Regions from separate parts of the Homo sapiens genome. Here region 1 is linked to region 2. The links are contacts of gene promoters, found by promoter capture Hi-C in human tissues and cell types (Jung and others, 2019). All regions are on one chromosome and are shown on one strand. The core of a region is centred on a gene start or on the middle of the fragment in contact, and the rest is flanking DNA. Distances in the headings are between cores, read along the strand shown. Region 1 overlaps LOC105371631 (a long non-coding RNA gene). Region 2 holds the start of SOAT1 (sterol O-acyltransferase 1).

Evidence for each region. The method cuts DNA at HindIII sites, captures the fragments that hold promoters and counts their contacts. A contact is called where the count stands out against the background at its distance.
Region 1: a contact is called between a fragment that was not itself captured here and the fragment with the promoter of SOAT1 in region 2, in 2 of the 25 tissues and cell types used here (lymphoblastoid cells and mesenchymal stem cells).

What each region holds. Positions count from the first base shown.
Region 1 is chr1:178,526,540-178,531,086 of GRCh38, reverse strand. LOC105371631 (a long non-coding RNA gene) reads left to right here. Exons shown (of 5, transcript XR_922310.3): 2 at 1,940-2,074; 3 at 2,948-3,057; 4 at 3,786-3,868. Among named protein-coding and RNA genes, the nearest start is that of C1orf220, 14 kb to the left of the region's middle. The HindIII fragment of the contact is 4,114 bases long and covers 1,208-4,547 here.
Region 2 is chr1:179,290,825-179,295,214 of GRCh38, reverse strand. It overlaps SOAT1 (sterol O-acyltransferase 1), which reads right to left and starts at 1,418. Exons shown (of 16, transcript NM_003101.6): 1 at 1,279-1,418. RefSeq lists an enhancer at 714-1,221 and a silencer at 1,434-1,623. The HindIII fragment of the contact is 6,238 bases long and covers 1-2,508 here.

The DNA of each region.
Region 1 (4,547 bases), core at 2,015-4,514, 770 kb after region 2:
AAGTCTCTTGATGTCCACGTGGCCTTTCGACAGGTGCTTATCGATCCCCTGCTAGTGCCTGGCACTGTTCTGGGCCCTGGGATATGGCAGTGACAGAAACAAAATCTCCACACTCAAAAAGCTTAGATTCTCGTAGAAAAAGACAGACAATAAACAAATAAGTAAACTGTATGGTATGTGAGTTGGTGACAAGAGTGCTGGAGAGAAAAATAAAGCAGACAGTAAGAGAGATAAGGAATGCTGGGACTGGGGGCCACTGAGAAGGTAACTTTGAGGCGAGGGAGCTGGCCGACTGGAAGGCTGAGAATTCTAGTGATGGTGGTGGCAGGGTGGTGAGAGGGGGTAGGGTTTGCAAGTGCAGAGGCCCTGAGGCAAGAGGGTATGTGTTGTGTTTGAAGAAAAACAAAGAAACCAGCATGGCTAGAAAGTGCAAGTGAAATACTGTACAGGGTTAGGGATGGGGAAGGCAGCAGGGCGGATCCTGTAGGGCTTTGTGAACCATTGACTTTGCATTTTGCTCTGAGAGAAGTGGGAAAACACTGGAAAGTTCTGAGCTGAAGAGTGACATGTTCTAATTTATGTTTTTAAAGGACAGCTTCAGTTTGCTGAGACTAGACTGTGGCAAGTCAGAGTAGCACCCCTTGGGAAGGTGGGTAGGCAGCCCGTTGCCATGGAATTGGGGGATCCTCAGAGCTGCTGAGTTTAAGAGAGATGGATCTGGGCCCCAGTCAGAAGTGTTGGATGCCTGAGCCCATCCTCAGCCACCTTCTGGGCTGGCCTGTGGCCTGTGACCCAGGAGAAGGAATGTTGTGAGTGGGCACTGGGCCAGTGCTGTGGCAGTGATGGGATGGATGACACAGTCTGGCCTCCTCCTGGGCCTCCCCTCTTAATTGCTCCCAGATGACTCACCCTCATGTTTCTCTGATGACCACATGCGTCAAGGCCTGGGGCTGCCGCACCTGTTACCTATGGGAGGGCTGGGGTGAGCCAACTGCCCCTCACTCTGTTGTCATTGGCCACCAGGTTGACAGGAGTGAGATGCTGTGTTACAAGGGACCCACCCCTGTCCTCTAGAATAGCCAGTCCTGATCCCCACCCACTCACGTTTTCCTATTATTTTATTTCCTACCTCCTCTCAAAATAACTGTAAGTCATTTGTTTATTTTTTAAGGTAGATCAAAATTCATTTCATTGCAGGCCTCGACATGATAAGTGTTAGTCAATGTGTCAGAAAACTGGGTCTGTGAATGGAAGGCCTTTGATCCAGGAAAGGCAACTCTGACCTCATGGTTACTGTCAACACAACAGTTTTTAAAAAATCTAATTCCTCCATATATACTCATTTAATTCTCACAACACTCCTATTAACTAGATGTTATCACCCCTACATTCTGGAGGAATATGCTGAGTCTCAGAGAGGCTAAGTAACGTGTCTGCAGCATCCACCAATTTGTATCTGGATCCGGCTGGCTGTGACCTCTGAGCTCCTCCTATCTCACCTGCTATCTCTAAAAGAGTTGCTGGCCCCAGAGGGCCACAGGGCAAAGGGAGCAAAGTGCTGGGCCGGGAGCCAGAAAACCTGGGCTGTAGTCCTGGCCTGGCCACAGCGGAGGGCGCCTCGCCACACACCTCTGGACCTCAAACCCCTCACCTGTAAATGGAAGAGATTGACCAGACCATCTCCAAGATCTCTTCTGTGTGGCCTTAGCTAAGGCTTGTTTGGTGATAACAGAAGCCCACTCTGCCTAAACAGGAATGGGTGATATAGTCCAAGAGGCCAGGGGGTCCCTCAGAGCTAAGGTGGGAACTACAACTGGACCAAGAGGGCCTGGGACCCGGAGAGTGGCTCTTGCAGCCCCCTCTTTGGATTGCAGGGCCTTTCCCTCCACTCCTCCACTTCATTCTTCTCTTTCTGTGAACTGGTTTTCTTTTCCAACAGATCAGCTTTTTCTGCATCTTCAGCTAACGGTGGCAGATGGCAACCCAGCTCCCAGTTACATATCTTCAATTCTGGGGCCAACTGAGCTCTCACCAAATTCCAGTTCCAAATCCCCAGGGAAAGGAATCCAACTGGGTGAGCTGGGTTTGGCATCCACCCCGGTCCAGTCAACCGGCTCCTGATTATGTCCAGGAGGGCAGGGTCCCATGGCACAGAAGTAGGGGCCTGGGTCAGGGAGATGCCCACCATGGCTCTGTACACAGGACAGGAATAGTATTTTTAGGAAAAGAGACAAAATTAAGTATCATTCTGTCCCAGAGGAGGTGACATTGAGACCTACGAATAAAGCACAAGCTTGCCAGTAAAGCTGGCCTGTGCGCAGTGTCAGCAGGAACGTCTGGCGGTGGCTCCCTGCAGGTCTCTCCCCAGGGGCACAGGAAACAGCTTTTTGACAGCCAGGCAAGCCTGTCCCTGAAACACACACAGATGTCCTGTTGCCTGTGAGTTGGGTGACATGGGACTGGGGCATGAGGGGGCTTGGGAAAGATCAAGGGATGGGGAAGGCAGAGACCACTGCCACCAGTCCTCGGCACTGAATTAGAGCTGCAGCATCATTTCCATAAAGAAGTTAGTGCCTCAGCAGATTGTGGCAGCTCAGTTTCCCTGATGACTTTGCTTCTGTTCTTAAAACTGGCACCTACGTAGGCTGGGAGGCAGCCTTGCTCATCCCGTCTGCCAGCCTGGCACCATGGTGATGTATGTATATTTCCAGATATGATCTGGGATGGACACTGGATAGTATGGAGAATTTTCTTGGGATCGCCCCCAAACCTGCACAGTCCCGGAGGGCTCCATGTGACAGGAGACCCCTGTTGGCACCCCAGGACCCTCGGGGATGTCCACAGTCCCAAGGCCACAGAGCCAAGAGGGCAGGAGTGGGTCAGAAGGGCCAACATGTGAATCTGTCAGGCTAGGCAGCAAAAGTTCAACCAAAAAATTTTTCCTCAGCCCCTGCCAAGTGCAGGGTTCTGACCACCATGCTGAGGATGAAGATGAAGACAGCATAAGCTCTGCCTCTAGAAACTGACAATCTGCATGGAGAGGAAAGACATATGCAGGTTGGAACAGTAAGATGGGAAACACCTCTACACGGCCGAGTGACCTATTCCTTGGGTCAATGAGGAGCTGTTAGAGCAGAGGGCAGTGCAGCGGGGATGATGGGAGATTCCTGGAGCTCAGAGAAGAAGGGGAGTGAAGGCAAGGATATGGGAATGTGAAGGGCACATTTGGGACCCTAGAGTGTAGGGTTTACAGATAGGAACGGGGGAGAAAAGGTGAAAAATAATATGGGAAATGCAAGGCCTTGAACGGCAGGTTAAAGAGTGTGTCTGTTATCCCACCAGTAATCAGCCCTGGGGATGGTTTTTGAGCAAGACGGTGAGTTGCAGAGTAAAGTAGTAGTTCGGGAGGAAATCTCTGGAAGTGGCGTGGACAATGGATTCCAGGCTGTGAGAAGAAACTCCTGGAGTCAAGAGGACTGGGTCAGAAGCTACTGGACATAGCTCAGGATCCAGACACTAAGAGCTTGGATTAGAGTGTGTATGGGAGAGGGGAGAATTCAGGAATAAACATTTGAAATGGTTAAAGGCCATGGGACCCAGGTGCTCATTTGCTATGGGAGATGGAGAAGATGTGAAGCTTTAATGACTAACGTGGTACCAAGGGCAGAAAAAGGGCATGCTCTCCACAGCCACGCAGCCATCAAGTGGCAGGGGCAGGGCATAATCAATGAATTCTACACAGTCTCTGCCCTTAAGGGACTCACATCCTCTTTTTTCATCCTCAGCTCTTCGGAAAAGGCCCTAAGAAGCCATCAAAGATATGTCATGGAGGAAGCCATCGAAGAGGAAAGAGGAAGCTTTGTAACAGGTACTTTACCTGTATTCTCAGAAATCCTCAAAATAACCAAAGGAGCTCTGGGACCAGCTGCTCAGGGCAGGGGGCTCTGAGCTCCACAGCACTCCAGGTTTCCTCCAGGGATGTTTAGTCCAGGGCACCAAGTGGACAGGCAAACAGACAGGCTGGTGAAAGCCCTGTGGGGGGATGAGGTCCAACCTTTGGCTGGAGATCAGCCTGTGCTCTAGCTGTCAGAGAACTGAGCAAAGACAAGGACTCCCATCAGCAAGTCAGACAGAGAAGGGTTTGGGGACACGGGGAAGTTTGGTTTTGGCTGTGTTGAAGTTGACAGGATGATGAGGCCCTGAAACAACAGGTAGATCCAAGCTTGGGTGACAGGTCAGGGCTTGAGTCCAAGGCTTGGGGTCACCTGCCAGAGACCGTGATTTGAGGCCACTGGTCAAGTTCATGCTTCTTTTCTTTCTTTTTTTTTTTTTTTTGAGATGGAGTCTCACTCTGTCCCCCAGGCTGGAGTGCGATGGTGCAATCTCGGCTCACTGCAACCTCTGCCTCCCGGGATTAAGTGATTCTCCTGCCTTAGCCTCCGAAGTAGCTGGGATTACAGGGGCCCACCACCATGCCAGGCTAATTTTTGTATTTTTAGTAGAGATGGGGTTTCTCTATGTTGGTCAGGCTGGTCTCAAACTCCTGA
Region 2 (4,390 bases), core at 169-2,668:
AGCCAGTGTGGCATGAACCTGGAAAGCCAGAAGGAAAGTGGGCCAAATGAACCAGAGATAGAGTGTGCTCACTCAGTAGGTCTTTATCCTAAAAGACTGCGAAACCTCAGATGCATTCTAAGCATGTGATTCACTAAAACACGTGCATTTCTAAACGATAATTCAGTGCCACAGAGCTCCTTCCAAAACCCATTCTCACACCCAGACAACGCACAGACTTCCTTAACAAGTCATTCACTGACACCGCCCAACTTTTAAAAAGAAAAAAAAAAAGCTTCAAATTGAATTCTACTTCAAGGAAGAGGAAATCAAGCAGGCTGAAAAAAAGAAAAAAGTGGTTTAAACAGGTGGCAGCCACTTAAATATTAAAAAGTGACCAACAGGCCAGGCGCGGTGGCTCACGCCTGTAATCCCAGCACTTTGGGAGGCCGAAGCGGGCGGATCACTTGAGGTCAGGAGTTTGAGACCAACCTGGTCCAACATGGTGAAACCCCGTCTCTACTAAAACTACAAAAATTACCTGGGCGTGGTGGCGCACGCCTGTAATCCCAGCTACTCAGGAGGCTGAGGCACAAGAATCGCTTGAACCCGGGAGGCAGAGGTTGCAGTGAGCCGAGATTGCGCCACTGCACTCCAGCCTTGCGACACAGCGAGACTCCGTCTCAAACAAACAAAAGTGACCAACGAACTTAACCTAAATATATATACGGAGAATAAAGTTTATATAGTTGTTTCTCACTTAGAAATAACCTTTCAATATACATATTATTTAAATTACATGACCATTAACACTTAGGGAAAACAGAAACTTACCTACATCCTAATATTTTACAATAAAACATGAGCTTGATTAAAGGTTCTGGTGCCCCTACAGATTTTCATGTCTTGCTAATACCATCCTTCCCTTCACACATTTTCTCTAAATCATTAAAAAGCTGACTTCCTGAGTGCATTTTTGGTTTCGCTTTTTAAAGAATAAAACGTCTTCTAATTCCTAACTTTCTTTACTACTGACTTGAGAGATGCCACGAGATTTGCGGAACACCAAACCAGCGTGCAGGGTTTAAAAGGCTGCCCGTGACCCGGGCGCCTGACGGTAACTTTCCCGCCCTCCCCTCCCCAACTCCCCTGCAGTCGCCGAGCCTCGCCTTCTCCGCAGCACAGCCCAGGACAAGGCCGGGCCGGAGCTGCTGCCGCCACCGCTTCTCCCTTCCCCGCGGGCTGAGGCCGGTGGACCCAAGCGGGAAGCGAGGAGAGGCGCGGGAGCACCACCGTTACCTGAGGCCCGCGCCCGGCAGCGGGCACTTCGGCCAAGAGGGCAGAGCCGGGAAGCGGTCACAGAGCAGCCAGCAGGAAGGTCGACTCCGGGAAGCTCTCCTGGCGCCCAGGGCCCGCAACGTCGCCTGCTAAGCTAAAGCGCCGGACAGCCCGGCCCCTACGCCCCCTGCCTCCGAGCACCGCTGCGTCACGCGCAGGGCCACCTCCGGCTGAGCATCCTATTGGTGGTCCCCAGGTTGCCAGGCTCCGCCCACCTCCCCGCCCCTTCCCGGGCGCGCGGGTCCCCGGCGCCAGTGCTCGCAGGCTGGCCCTGGCAACCTGCCAAGGAAGCTTCTCACCCGGACATCATGATACCGGCGACAACATCTTGCTTGACACTTCCACCCCAGCAGTAGAATGTGCAGCCAAAACGGGACTGCGACAACTCCCTGCAAGCCCGAAACGGCACCCTGCGTGGTAGCATGGAGCTGCAGGGGCGTTTGGCTCCTAGGCCGACTGGAAGAAGCCGCTTCTGGAGCTGTGGATCATTGCAGTTTGAACTGACCATCCAGGAACAACGTAGAACTAGCCAGAAGCAAGAATCGCTGGCTTATCTGCACACCAAGATTCGTGCCTTTATCAGGAGATTCCTTACCGTTTGAAAACCAGCGTCCTTCAGCAACATTCAAACTAGATAAGGGGAAAAAACCTGCACCAAATAATAAAACACACCAAATAATGGAACAACTAAGTAATATTTAAGGGCCCTTGAGGCCAGGTGCGGTGGCTCACGCCTGTAATCCCAACACTTTGGGAGACCGAGGTGGCTGGGTCACCTGAGGTTAGGATCGAGACCAGCCTGACCAACATGGTGAAACCCCGTCTCTACTAAATACAAAAAATTAGCCGGGCTTGGTGGCGCGCGCCTGTAATCCCAGCTATTCGGGAGGCTGAGGCAGGAGGATTGCTTGAACCCGGAAGCCAGAGGTTGCAGTGAGCCTAGATTGTGCCATTGCACTCCAGCCTGGGCAATAAGAGCTAAACTCCTTCTCAAAAAAAGTTTTAAAAATAAAATAAACAAAGGGCCCTCGTGACTTCATAATCAAAAGAAGAATGATGCAGAGAGATTTGGGACAGAGATTAAATACAACAGTTAATCGCTTGGAATTTGTGAAGGCAGAGGTGTACGTAAATTTAGGGTAAAGGTAGGTGAAAAGGCAATGATGAGAGGAGCAGAGACTGAAGAGTCGCACTCACAGCCTGCAAACTAATACCAGCTAGCCTGGCCTGACTAATCGCTTCTTCCCCACTCCTCCCCAGGACAAAAATCCCTGAACAAACAGATGAGGTTTAGCAGAACTGACTACTCTCTGGGTCCTTTAAACAAAGTGGATTTGTACACGTTCCCTTGGCCACCCAGCAGGCTGCACTGTTCACTCAAAGCAGAAATGGCCCTCAGCATCCAGTCGAGTTTAGTACTGGCTGTCATTGGCAGATCTGCTCCGTTTGGCCTCTTCTACAACTGTGATTGCCACGTGTGCTGACTAGTTGGTGACAGGGTCTGGTAGACCCCCAGCTGCTTCCCCTCCCCACTCCCACTAGTTATAGAGCAGTAGGAACATAGGCACTCATTTCTATTGGGTCTCTGTTGGCTACCTTCTATATACACCAAGATGACTGGCCTTTTCACTGTTTGATTCATTCATTCAAAAAATATTGATAGTATTCTTGGTGCTAGAAATACAGTGGTGAATAAACAGAAGAAGCCCCTGCACTTAGAGGCTTATGTTCTGCAGGACTAGGTATGAAAGGAAACAAACAGGTGGCTCAAGCCTATAATCCCAGCACTTTGGGAGGCTGAGGCAGGAGGATCACTTTGAGGCCAGGAGTCCAAGACCAGCCTGAGCAACATAGTGAGACTCCCTCTCTACAGAATTTAAAAACAACAACAACAACAACAACAATGACAACAAAATTTGCTGGGAATTGTGGCAGGCCCCTATGGTCCCAGCTACTCGGGAGGCTGAGATAAGAGGATTGCTTGTGGTGGGGGATGGGGGGTGAGGGACGGAGGATGCAGTGAGCCAAAAAATCATGCCACTGCACTGCAGCCTGGTCAACACAGTGGGACTCTGTCTCAAACAACAAAAGCTTATGTTTCTAATGAAGAATATAAATAATAAAACGAATAGATGAGATAATCACTGGCAGTGATAAGTACTGAGCAGAAAACAAAACAGAATGGTCAGGGAAGGATTTTCTGAGGAGATAATTCAGGAGCTAAGACCTAAATGACAAGAAGGAGCCAGCCAAGCCAACCATGGGGAGGAAGAACATTCTAGACAGAGGATAATGGGTGTCAAGGCCCCGATGCTGAACTGTGGCTGATGCTGAAGCGTGGCTGTTTGAGGAACAGGCCAGGAGGCTTGAGCATGTCAAATAGGGGTTTGAAGTTGAGTTTGGAGCATTAAGCAGGAACCTAATCACGTTGTTTGGATTTATCTGTTAAGTGCAAAGGCAAGATAATGAAGGGTTTGGGTTTTTGTTGTTTTGAGATGGGGTCTCACTCTGTCGCCCAGGCTGGAGTGCAGTGGTGCAATCAGGGCTCACTGCATCCTCTACCTCCCCAGGCTCGCTAAGTCATCTTCCCACCTCAGCCTCCCTAGTACCTGGGACTACAGGTGGGCGTCACCACACCAGACTAATTTTTGTATTTTTTGTAGAGACAGGGTTTCGCTGTGTTGCCCAGGCTGGTCCTGAACTCCTGGGCTCAAGTGATCCTCCCGCCTCAGCCTCCCAAACTGCTGGGATTACAGGCATGAGCCACGTGCCCGGCCATTGGTTTATTTTTTTTTTTAAATCAACCTATTTTATAGAGAATGACTTGAAGGGAGCAGCAATGGAACAAAAAGGAGCCGAAGAACAATACAAAGTTATTGGGCAAGTTCAGGGGGTAGATGGTGGTACCTGGACTAGGCTGGTTGGTGTGGAAATAGAAATTGAAAGATTTCAGGATATTTTCCCGAGGTGCAGGTGTGAAGAAAGGTAGTAAACGAGATGACTCCCAGGTTGTTTCCTTAAGCAATTGAGAGGATGGGGATACCATTTAGTGCAAGGGCAAAGATGATATATG